Linked DNA regions of Homo sapiens: region 2 is linked to region 1. The links are contacts of gene promoters, found by promoter capture Hi-C in blood cells and fetal thymus (Javierre and others, 2016). All regions are on one chromosome and are shown on one strand. The core of a region is centred on a gene start or on the middle of the fragment in contact, and the rest is flanking DNA. Distances in the headings are between cores, read along the strand shown.

Evidence for each region. Contacts are between HindIII fragments. The CHiCAGO score rates a contact against its expected background, and 5 or more counts as called.
Region 2: a contact is called between a fragment that was not itself captured here and the fragment with the promoter of RGCC in region 1, in 1 of 17 cell types (erythroblasts). The highest score is 5.6, in erythroblasts.

The regions. Positions count from the first base shown.
Region 1 is chr13:41,455,263-41,460,139 of GRCh38, reverse strand. It overlaps RGCC (regulator of cell cycle), which reads right to left and starts at 2,590. Exons shown (of 5, transcript NM_014059.3): 1 at 2,384-2,590; 2 at 1,670-1,855. The coding sequence starts at 2,432. RefSeq lists enhancers at 1,548-1,677, 1,727-2,404 and a silencer at 1,978-2,817. The HindIII fragment of the contact is 26,753 bases long and covers 1-4,877 here.
Region 2 is chr13:42,116,343-42,121,443 of GRCh38, reverse strand. The region is part of intron 1 of DGKH (diacylglycerol kinase eta); the gene reads right to left. Among named protein-coding and RNA genes, the nearest start is that of DGKH, 70 kb to the right of the region's middle. The HindIII fragment of the contact is 4,715 bases long and covers 1,134-5,101 here.

The DNA.
Region 1 (4,877 bases), core at 1,341-3,840:
ACTAAGGGTTAGTCCGTTAACAACAAAAGCAGAAAACAGACACATATAACCTAAGCAAAACTACAAACTATCCCAACTATCTCCCCTGAAACTGTTAAGAATGTGTTTCTATGTCTTCTCTTTAAGGCATCTGAAAACAGATTCTAGATCTGAAATCCCACCCAGTGGAAGTTGCAATCAGCCATGAATGGGCGCGCTCAGACCTATTCTAGTAGAGTGAGGCTGTTGCTTAGAAAGGAGCTGTTCTTTGCCACAGAGCAGCAGCGACACACTATCCTAGCTTTCTTTTCCATGCGAGAATCTGTATTTGATGAATAACTTGCTCCATGCCCCAGTAGGAGGAGACATATTTAAGTTTGGCCTTTAGAATTGAGACAAATTTCAAAAATGTTAACACTTTGCTTTGAAATTGAAAATGAACCTATTCATTAAGAACAAAGTCCAAAAATTCTAAGTGGAAAAGTAACAGTACTTTCTTCCATCCCCTTTCACCTCAAAAGCTGCAGCTTGGTCTAACTCTTTGGCAGTGCTGCCAAGGAAACAAGCTGGAACTCAGCTTCCTGAGTCAAACCCTGACCAGGGTGGTGAGCGCATTTATCCCTTTGCAGAAGGGCAGCTCATGTTCATGTCTAGCCCCGAATCTTAGCCCAGGAACAAGGAAGAGCTCCAGGTTTCAAAATAAGAGAATCACACGGAAAGGCCATTACTTTCACGTCCTGAGTCAAGGGCAGCAAAAGGAGTGACATTCATGCCTGTAACCCATCTAAGGATTAAAGGCTGAAGAATAACACAGAAGAGTTTAAAATTGACTTTGCCCTTTGAAAAACAATAAGCAATTCTGGATTTGAAACCAACAATCATGTAATATTAAAAAGGCACCTAATTTGCTGTTTGAGGTACCTGTAATCCTCCCAGGACATGTGAGTTCCTGGAAAAAGCTGTCTCTTTTGTTGTTTTTGTTGTTGTTGCTGTTGTTGACAAAGTTGTTCAGGACAAAGAGACCCTGGGGTAGTCTCCATTGTGAGAAAGATCACCAGGAACCACCTTCATGCCCATGTGCTCTCTGGCTCCCCCTCCAGCCTGGTGGAGGACCTGGCTGAAAAATACTTGAACTCAGCAGTGCCAAAGATTTTCATAACTGCATGCAATGGAGCAACAAGTCTGAGAGCTAAGGGCCAGAAGACAATGCAAGCAGTTATTTCATAAATCCCAAGAACAGCAGTTTGGGCTTATGAAACCTTTCCTGGTTTCATGAATATTTCCGTTCTGCGCCCTCCCATGTCCCCACTGTGCCCCCTCATTCCACTGGCACTTGTTCCACATCTGCAAAGTTACAGCTGAGAGGGGAGAGGCACGGAAAGGAGAAGAGGAGGGAAACTGCGGAAAGGCCTGGTGCAGGTCCAGGGAGTCCTGTCTGGCTGAGTCGGGACAAGCTGCTTAAACTCGCCTGCCTGGTGACACACCCGTGGGCGGCAAGTGAACCAACCTGCCCTCCAGCGACCTTTCCCGTGATTATCGTCAGGGGCCCCGCCACCACTCGGCCTACTGCGTTGAGCTTCAGGAAACCATTCCTCAGTTTACTGATAAGAAAACTGAGGCCGCAGCCTTCGCGGGGCAGGTCCTGGGAGCTGGGAGATCCCGGCGCCATCCTAGCGGGGGCCGCACTTACTCTCCGAGTCGCTGAAGCCGCTGCTGTCGCTGACACTGGCGCTGCTGCGCCGCTTCATGCGCTCCAGGTGCTCCTCGTAGTGGAAGTGGCGCTCGTGGAAGGGCGACGCGAAGTCGGCCAGCACCGCGTCAAACTCGCACAGCGCGTCCGACAGGTCCTCCGCGGCCGCCGAGTCCAGGGCCGGGGCTGCGGGCAGGGCCAGGGGCTCAGTGCACGGAAGTCAGGGGGGCAGCGGGACCACCTCCCAGGGCCAGGAGGGGCCGCCACGGTTCCCGAAGATAACTGACACTTGGCGCCTCTGCCAAGTGACAGCCACGCAGTCGCTGTTACCTTGTAATCTTCTCCACCACCCCCGAAGTGCGTTCTATTACCAAGTCCGTTTTACAGACAAGAAAACTGAGCCTTCGCCAGGCCCAGGGTCACCCAGCGACTTGGCGCGGCCAGATTCCTCCCCAGGCGCTGCCGGTTACCTGTCCCCGCCGCTCCCCCCAACCCCGGGCGCGCGCGGAGCTGGTGGTGGAGGGAAGGTGGGACATGGGGGCCAGCCCGGGCCGGAAAGGAGGCTGCAGCCGCCCGCGCGGGAAGACCGGGGACAGGTTCCCGCCGGGGAGGATGGAAGGGTGGGGGGTGTGAAGGGACGACACGGGGCCCCTCCTTTCTCACCCGCCATCTGCAGAGCCGAGACTTTAAGGGGACCCCGGACCCCGCACTCACCTGCGGCCGCGGCGGCCGCGGGGCTGCCCTGCGCCGCGGGCGGCTTCATGAGGCGGCTCAGCTGGGCCCGGCGCGCGTGGCCTTGGGTCCTGCGAGGTGGCAGCCGGGGCTATTCGGGGGCTTGCTGTCCCGCACACTTCAGCCCTGCCAGTCCCTTCGGCGCTGCGCTCCAGCCGCGCCGCTCCCAGCACGGTCCGCGCCCGCCCTACCACCGGCTCGGGTTCCTAGATCTTATAGCCTTCGGCGGCCGGAGCGGAGGCGGGGCCGGGGCGGGGCTGCGGAGCCGGGGCGACGGGTCTGTCCCCGCCGCCCTCCGAGGAGGCCCCTGCCCCCAGGCACCGCCCTCGCCACGCGCCCGCCCTGGAACCGCGGTGACGAGGAGTCGCCGAAGCCCCGGTTACAGCCCCAAATATTTACCCGCCTCTCGCCCCCGCGCCCTGACAACCCGGCCCACGCGGTGTCCTCGGCGTCACCAGAGCTGACTGCTGGGCGCGAGCTCTGCTGCTTCCCGCCGCGTGCCAGGCACCTCCGCGAGCCGCAGCTTCCTCGGCTGTGAAGTGGACGTGGGCATGCAGAGCCTCCCTGGCTGGCGGTGAGGGACGAAGGAGCCCGCGGCCGTGTCCCAGTCGGGTGTCGGGGACGCGGAGGTCCCCTACGCATTGTCCCAAGGGGACTTCCGAGATGGTGGGCGGGCGGAGTGGAGAGGGTCGGGGCGAGAGGGGCAGGAGTTGGGGGAGTCCTGAACTGTTCCCACCGCGGAGCGCGGGGGCCTGAACTACGGTCCAGGGCGCTCCCGCCAGCCTGACTTTATCTAGAAGGGGTTTATTATGGGAAGAAACTACTGCGTCGACGCAGCGCGAACAGGGCGCCTTGCAGTGTCCACGGAGTAACGAGCCACCCTGCCCCGCGGCCTGCGGGGGCGAACGCCCTGGACTGTGCGCTGAGCTAGGCGCTAGCCTCTCGCCTCTCACCACAGACGGCTAATTAAATGTAGAGCAATTAACATGTAACGGAGTGAAACATTCAGCCTCCACTCCCAGCTAGTTTTTGTATTTTTAGCAGAGACGGGGTTTGTCCATGTTGGCCAGGCTGGTCTCGAACTCCCGACCTCAGGTGATCTGCCCACCTCAGCCTCCCAAAGTGCTGGGATTACAGGCGTGAGCCACCGCACCCAGCCAGGATTTGTTTTCAGAATATAGAAAGACCCATCTACAAAGTAATCACAAATAGACAACCTGGTAAAAATTAAAAATGAGCAAAACATTGAAACATACACCTCACAAAGGAGTATATGTTAATGACCACTAATCATATGAATAGTCCTCCTCTCTTGTCTACTCTGGGTGGCCTAGGGATATGCTTGTCTTGTGGAGGCACAAGCACTGTGGGCTCAAGAGTGGGGAGCCTCTTTCCCTGTTAAGGGGAGGACACCACTGGGATCTCTGGTGCCATCTCCTGCAATGGATCCTCTGATGTGGGGTCGAACAGAACTTCAGGAGTTGATTTCCCTGGGTGAGTGGAGCGGGATCCTTCCTTAGCTATCTGTCCCTTTGCTACTAGTATTGCTGCTGCATGCCCTCAGCCACTGTGGGGGTTCTAGCACCAGCTGTCACCAAGTGTCTATGTATGGGAACTGGTCTAGGTATCTTTACCAGTTACCTTGTGCCACGCCTTAGAAACAAGGGACCTGTCCAGGCTTCCTTCTGATGGCCAACCCACTTCTAATGGTGCGCAATCTATTTCCCACAAGGTTCTAAGTTCCCCTGGTGGTCTAGTGCTTAGGATTCGGTGCTCTCACCGCTGCTGCCTGCGTTCGATTCCCGGTCAGGGAACAAAGAAATGGAGCATGGATGAGCAGCGGACAAAACCCCTCAGACAGCGGATTAAAGAAGGAAGAGTTTTTTTTATTCCGCTGGGAGCTTCGGCAGACTCGCGTCTTAAGAGCCGAGCTCCCGGAAGGAAGACAGAGTTCCTGGCCCGTTTAAGGGCTTACAGCTTTAAGGGGTTCCACGTGAAAGGGTCTTGATGGATTGAGAGCACATGTACTTAGAGTCACGGGGGTTGATTGTTTCACCTCAGGCCGGCTCCTCATTGCCACCGGCTGGTCTTGACACTGACTTCATTCCTGTTGTTTTCCAACTTTTACTTCCTCCTCCTCTTCAGAGACAGGAGACAGTAGCGAAATGGCTTCTCTCCTCAGGGCGACAGGATGATATTACTCCCAATATCACAGGGGGTGTACACACCCCTATGAAACTCTTCCTACTATCCAGAGGGAGAGAGGATGATATTACTCCCAATAGCGCAGGGGGTGTACACAGCCCTGTAATACTCTTCCTAAAATCCACAGGGAGAGAGAATGATATTACTCCCAATATCGCAGGGGGAGTACACAACCCTGTGATATTGTTCCTAATATCCAGAGCGAAAGAGGATGATATGACTCTCAGTATTGCAGGGGGTGTACACCCTCCTGTAATATTTTTCTTAATAC
Region 2 (5,101 bases), core at 2,242-4,741, 660 kb before region 1:
AATAAACTCATCATAAGTTGAAAATATTGTAAGTCAAAAATGCATTTCATATACCTAGCCTACTGAACATCACAGCTTAGCCTAATCTACCTTAAACGTGCTCAGAACACTTACGTTAGCCTACAGGTGGGCAAAATCATCTAATACAAAGCCTATTTTCTAATAAAGTATTGAATATCTCATGTAATTGAATATCACACTGAAAGTGAAAACAGAATGGTTGCATGAGAACTCAAAGTACGTTTTGTACTGAATTCATACTGCTTTCATATCAGAAAATTGGAAAATTATTAAGTTGAACCACTGTAAGTCAGGGAATGTCTTGTGTGCGTGTGTGTGTGTGTGCGCATGTTGTGTGTGTGTGTGTGTGTGTGTGTATAATATATATTATTACTTTCATAGAAAAATGTGGTCTAAGTTCCAAACAACCAGTTCATAAACAAACTACTTCTGGAACAAAATCTAGTTGTGGGTTGGGGTCTGTAAGTAAAAAGGAAAATGGGCAAAGTAACCTCTGTGACAGTGGTTCATAACTTTGGTTGGATCAAGATGCCTTTTCAGAATCTGTTGAAAGTTGTGAATACTATCTCTCCAGAAACATGCCTGCATGTGCGCACATACACACACAATATACACACTAAAAATTACATACAATTTTAGAGGGTTCATGAACTTTCGAGATCTACCATAACTAAAAATTACAGCCTCCATATAACAGTAAATTGGATTAGTGTTTTGGTGGTTGTTTTTTAAATAATTGGATTAGTTTTTTGGTTGTTGTTTTTTAAATAAATCATATCCTTAATATGGTTATGGGTAACAAATAATAATTCTTTTAAACTTTGTCTTCAGTTAGCTTAATGGTCTCCTATACCATTTGAAACAGCGTAATTTGATATTACTTGAGGTTAGAGAGCAATAACTGAAAAATTTTGAGTTCCAATTTTCTGTTGCATTTTCAGCAGTAGTTAATAATTATATAACCAAACAAATCCTAAAATATACAGGCATTTCCTAATTCGAAAGTTTGAAATATACTTATTTATTCAATTTGAAAATTTTATTTTTGAAGATATACTACATAGTTGTTCTTCCCAAGATGATTAAACATTATTTTATAAAAATGAAAAGCTTACCCTAAGAAAAATTAATTTGAATTCAAATATTCATTCCTTCAAAACACAAAAGAATATATTTTCATTCCATGTTTTCAGTCCTAGTTTATTTTCAAACCAAGATTGGAGATGTGGAACCTCTGGGTAACATATTATTTTCACTTTAGACTAGGAAAGCTCAATTAGCACCCACACCTCAATAACCTGAAATAACCAAACAACGGTTCAGAGTCTTTAATGTCCTATCCAGTTTCATGGTTCACTGCTGCATAAAGTGTGCACTTGTGACTCATAAAAGGACACTGCCATAGAGAGAGGTCAAAAGATAATATGGGGAAAATATAACCACAGTAGAAAGGAAGTATCAAAGTTTGTATTATCAGTATTTAAGAGAGTTATTCTTCAAAAAAATAACATTGATTCAGCATTTATGATTAAAAAGAGAATGTGCAAAAAATAAGAGGTATAAAAATCAAGACTTGATAGTATGTTAAATAATCATTAACTTGATGAGAAAGGAATATGAAGTATTCATTTAAAAACATACAGATTACATGGCAAAACAATGTGAATATACTTAAAGCTACTGAAATGCACATTTAGAAATGATTAAGATAGTAAATTCTGTTATAAAATTTTTGTTATAAAATTTTTACCATAATGTAAATAATTTTTTTAAAAAGAAGAGATTACAACACTCTTAAATATCCCAGAAAGTCCTTGGGATAAGAGCTAAAAACTTTTAAGAGGATAATGTAGCTTCTAGTCTAACAAAGTTAGTGAGAGAAGGAGAAAGAAACTACACTGAATGTCATGGAAGAGCCATCTCACCGTGTTCAGAACTGAAGACTTATGGCCTAGCACTGACCACAGGACTGCTTTTTGGACCAGAGTGCAGATGACCAGTAACACCATGGGAAGCCACCTCGGCTAAGAGGAGCGTCTCTGAACTTTGTCATGTGACATCATGCTAGTCTTTTGTTACTCTAAATCCATTCCTCTTCTTTCAGATGCTTGCTCAGATTCATTCACATACAAATTCTTTATTTCTTTTCCTGAAAATGCCTAAAATATGCAGTCCAGTCATGCCCATTCAATACAGTCCTATTTCAAGATGCTTTGAGGAGAAATACGGGAAGCCTGCAGCCACTGCCAAGGGGGATTCCGGAGAGTTATATGATGAGCTGCATCACCGTAGCATCTGGTGTCACCCAAGGTAGGCAGCCCATAATTCCTAAACCCAAACACAGAACATTAAAGTGCTATAAAAATACATCTTGGCCAAAGAATAAATCATTTGGAAATTCAAATGGCAGAAGTGGGTGTATTCGGATTTTTGTAAAGTTCTGTTTAAGGCAATGGGGAAGAAAAGTTAATGTTTGGTCTATTTATGTTCTAAAAGTACTGTTTTAAGGAAATGTAAATAACCTACTTCATTCTCCCATGGTTTTGCGTGTAATTTTCTAAAATGAAAATCTAGTTAAATTACGCCACCGCTTCAAGCCCTTCATTAGTTCTCTTCTGCCTGCTACATAAAGTCCAAGCTCCTACATGTACCATAGAAGGCCCCTACACAGCCCTCCAAATGCGTGGCCTACCCCTCCTAAGCTCCTTCCTCTGCCCTAAATATCCTCTGCTCCACTTGTCTGTCTTGAAATCTATTCATCTCAACATTCATCCAGCACCATTAGCCCTGGGAAGGCGTCCTTGACCCCGTAGGGGTAGGAAGAAGCCACCACTCCCACCTTCGGGTCTCTAATACATCCTTATCCTGTCTGTGTAACAGCACCTATGACACTGAACAGTGTCCATCCACATATTTATGGTCCCACCAGGTCGCGGCCTTTAAGAGGGCAAAGACAGCAACCTACCCATTTTTGTAACATCACCATCCATGGCATTAGGTAACACATCATAGGGCCTCCATAAATAAATGTTGGTTGAGTTGACCTAAACAACTTTTACCAACAGTATACAATGGTATGTAAGGTAACTGTGTATTTTAAAACAAAGACAAAAAATTAGAAAACGGGAAAGCGCTGGGCCCCTGATTGAGGGGAAATGGTATCAATGAGTAAACAAGAAACACAGGCTGGAAATGCTTTTTTTTTTGAGACGGAGTCTCTCTCTCTTGCCCAGGCTGGAGTGCAGTGGTGCGACCTGGGCTCACTGCAAGCTCCGCCTCCCGGGTTCATGCCATTCTCCTGCCTCAGCCTCCCGAGTAGCTGGGACTACAGGCGCCCGCCAACACGCCCGGCTAATTTTTTGTCTTTTTGGTAGAGACGGGGTTTCACCATGTTAGCCAAGATGGTCTCCATCTCCTGACCTCGTGATCCGCCTGTCTCGGCCTCCCAAAGTGCTGGGATTACAGGTGTGAGCCACCACGCCTGGCCGGAAATGCCTTTATGGTTTCCAGGGTTCAGCAGATTTCAGGCTGTTTCTTTTCACGTGTATGAAAATGGACACAACGCTCAAAGGTATACCTCTGGAGGGGCAGAAAATGTCTATCCTGATTTTTTATGAGAATATTGTGCATTTAGAGATGTTCCTTATAGAGTCATTTTCAAAGCAAATAATTTATGTTTTTTCTATAGAATTATTACATTCTTCAAATCTTACATAAGCATGTATTAATCTCCTGTGATGTGTGAGGCTGTGGTGTATATATAAAGATGTATAAAATATAGTCCTTGCCTTCACGAAGCTACAAACCTCTCTATGTTACAATATACAAACAGCTAATTTTAAATTCTTGAAGAAAAAAAAGAAAAGGAAAAAACATTCTTGCCTTCCTCTAAAAGATATGATTAAAAAGATTTAGCTGGGAGGCAGTTATTCACGTGAAAGTTAATCCTCAAAATAAACTTCTGTTTATGTACGGCTAAACAGACGCTTCTCATAAAAGAACAAGCATAACCAAAAAGTGATTAATTTGTAACAGCTCTAGCAAATATAATCATACAATCAAAGTGTGGTTAAGAAAAAAGCAAGTGGCTCCAAATATTTCAAAATAATGAGTATACCAAGTGAAGAAACAAAGATTCATTTTTTAAAAATCATGCTATTATATTCGATATTAATGTTCAACCAAAATAACAAAGTTAGTAACAAATATAAGAAATAGTTATAATCAGAGTTATGGTTAAGAATCTGTTAAAAGCAAGTATGTTTTAGTTTTACTTTGTTCACAAATTCTAGGATGAGGCATTAACTCCCCCCTCCTCCCAAAAAGGGCTTAGAAACATTTGTATTAACTGCCATTTAGTCATATAATCTGGCAGTTAATGGTTTAGTACTACCTGACCCTCATGGAAAATCAGTAAAGCCATATAGACTCCAACTGGAATCCAATAACCTAGTTTAAAAAAATTAAAAGCAAAAAGATCAATGAACCTGACTTTGAAAAATCGTTTTCCAAAAATAAAAGCATTACAAGTTGAATAAATTTTTATATAGCTGGCTTTCTGTAACTGTTTTTAGTCCAATGTCTTAAAGCTGCAGAATTGCTCATTTCATGCCCTTTGCTTAAAGAAAATAAAAGTAATTTCTCTTTTAAATTATATACACACATGGATGCTCCAGGATGTCACCTAAATTTTCAGAAACGCCTCTGTGTCACAAGTGGAAGCTCCTTAGATGGAAAACCACTTTAATGCCCCAAGGAGAATGCAACTTTAAAAACAGCCCTTCGATGAGCCTTTTGTAAAGCTAAGAATCCTTGAAAAATCAGGCACTGCCTGATTTATCCAGTAGGTATACACTTTCATATGCGATGCTGGCTTTTAGAGGAGTGTTAAACAGGTGTGTAAAGTGCAAAGGTCAGTGAGGATGCATGTCTTTTACAGATGCCTTCAAGAATTCCAGAAGAACCTCTAGCTTCTACCAGTCATGTCCCAGCATGACCTCCACTTCTCATCTAAGGAATGGAATTTGGCGTCATGGGAGAGATGGATCAGGGGAGATTTCAACACTCTACATTTTATTTG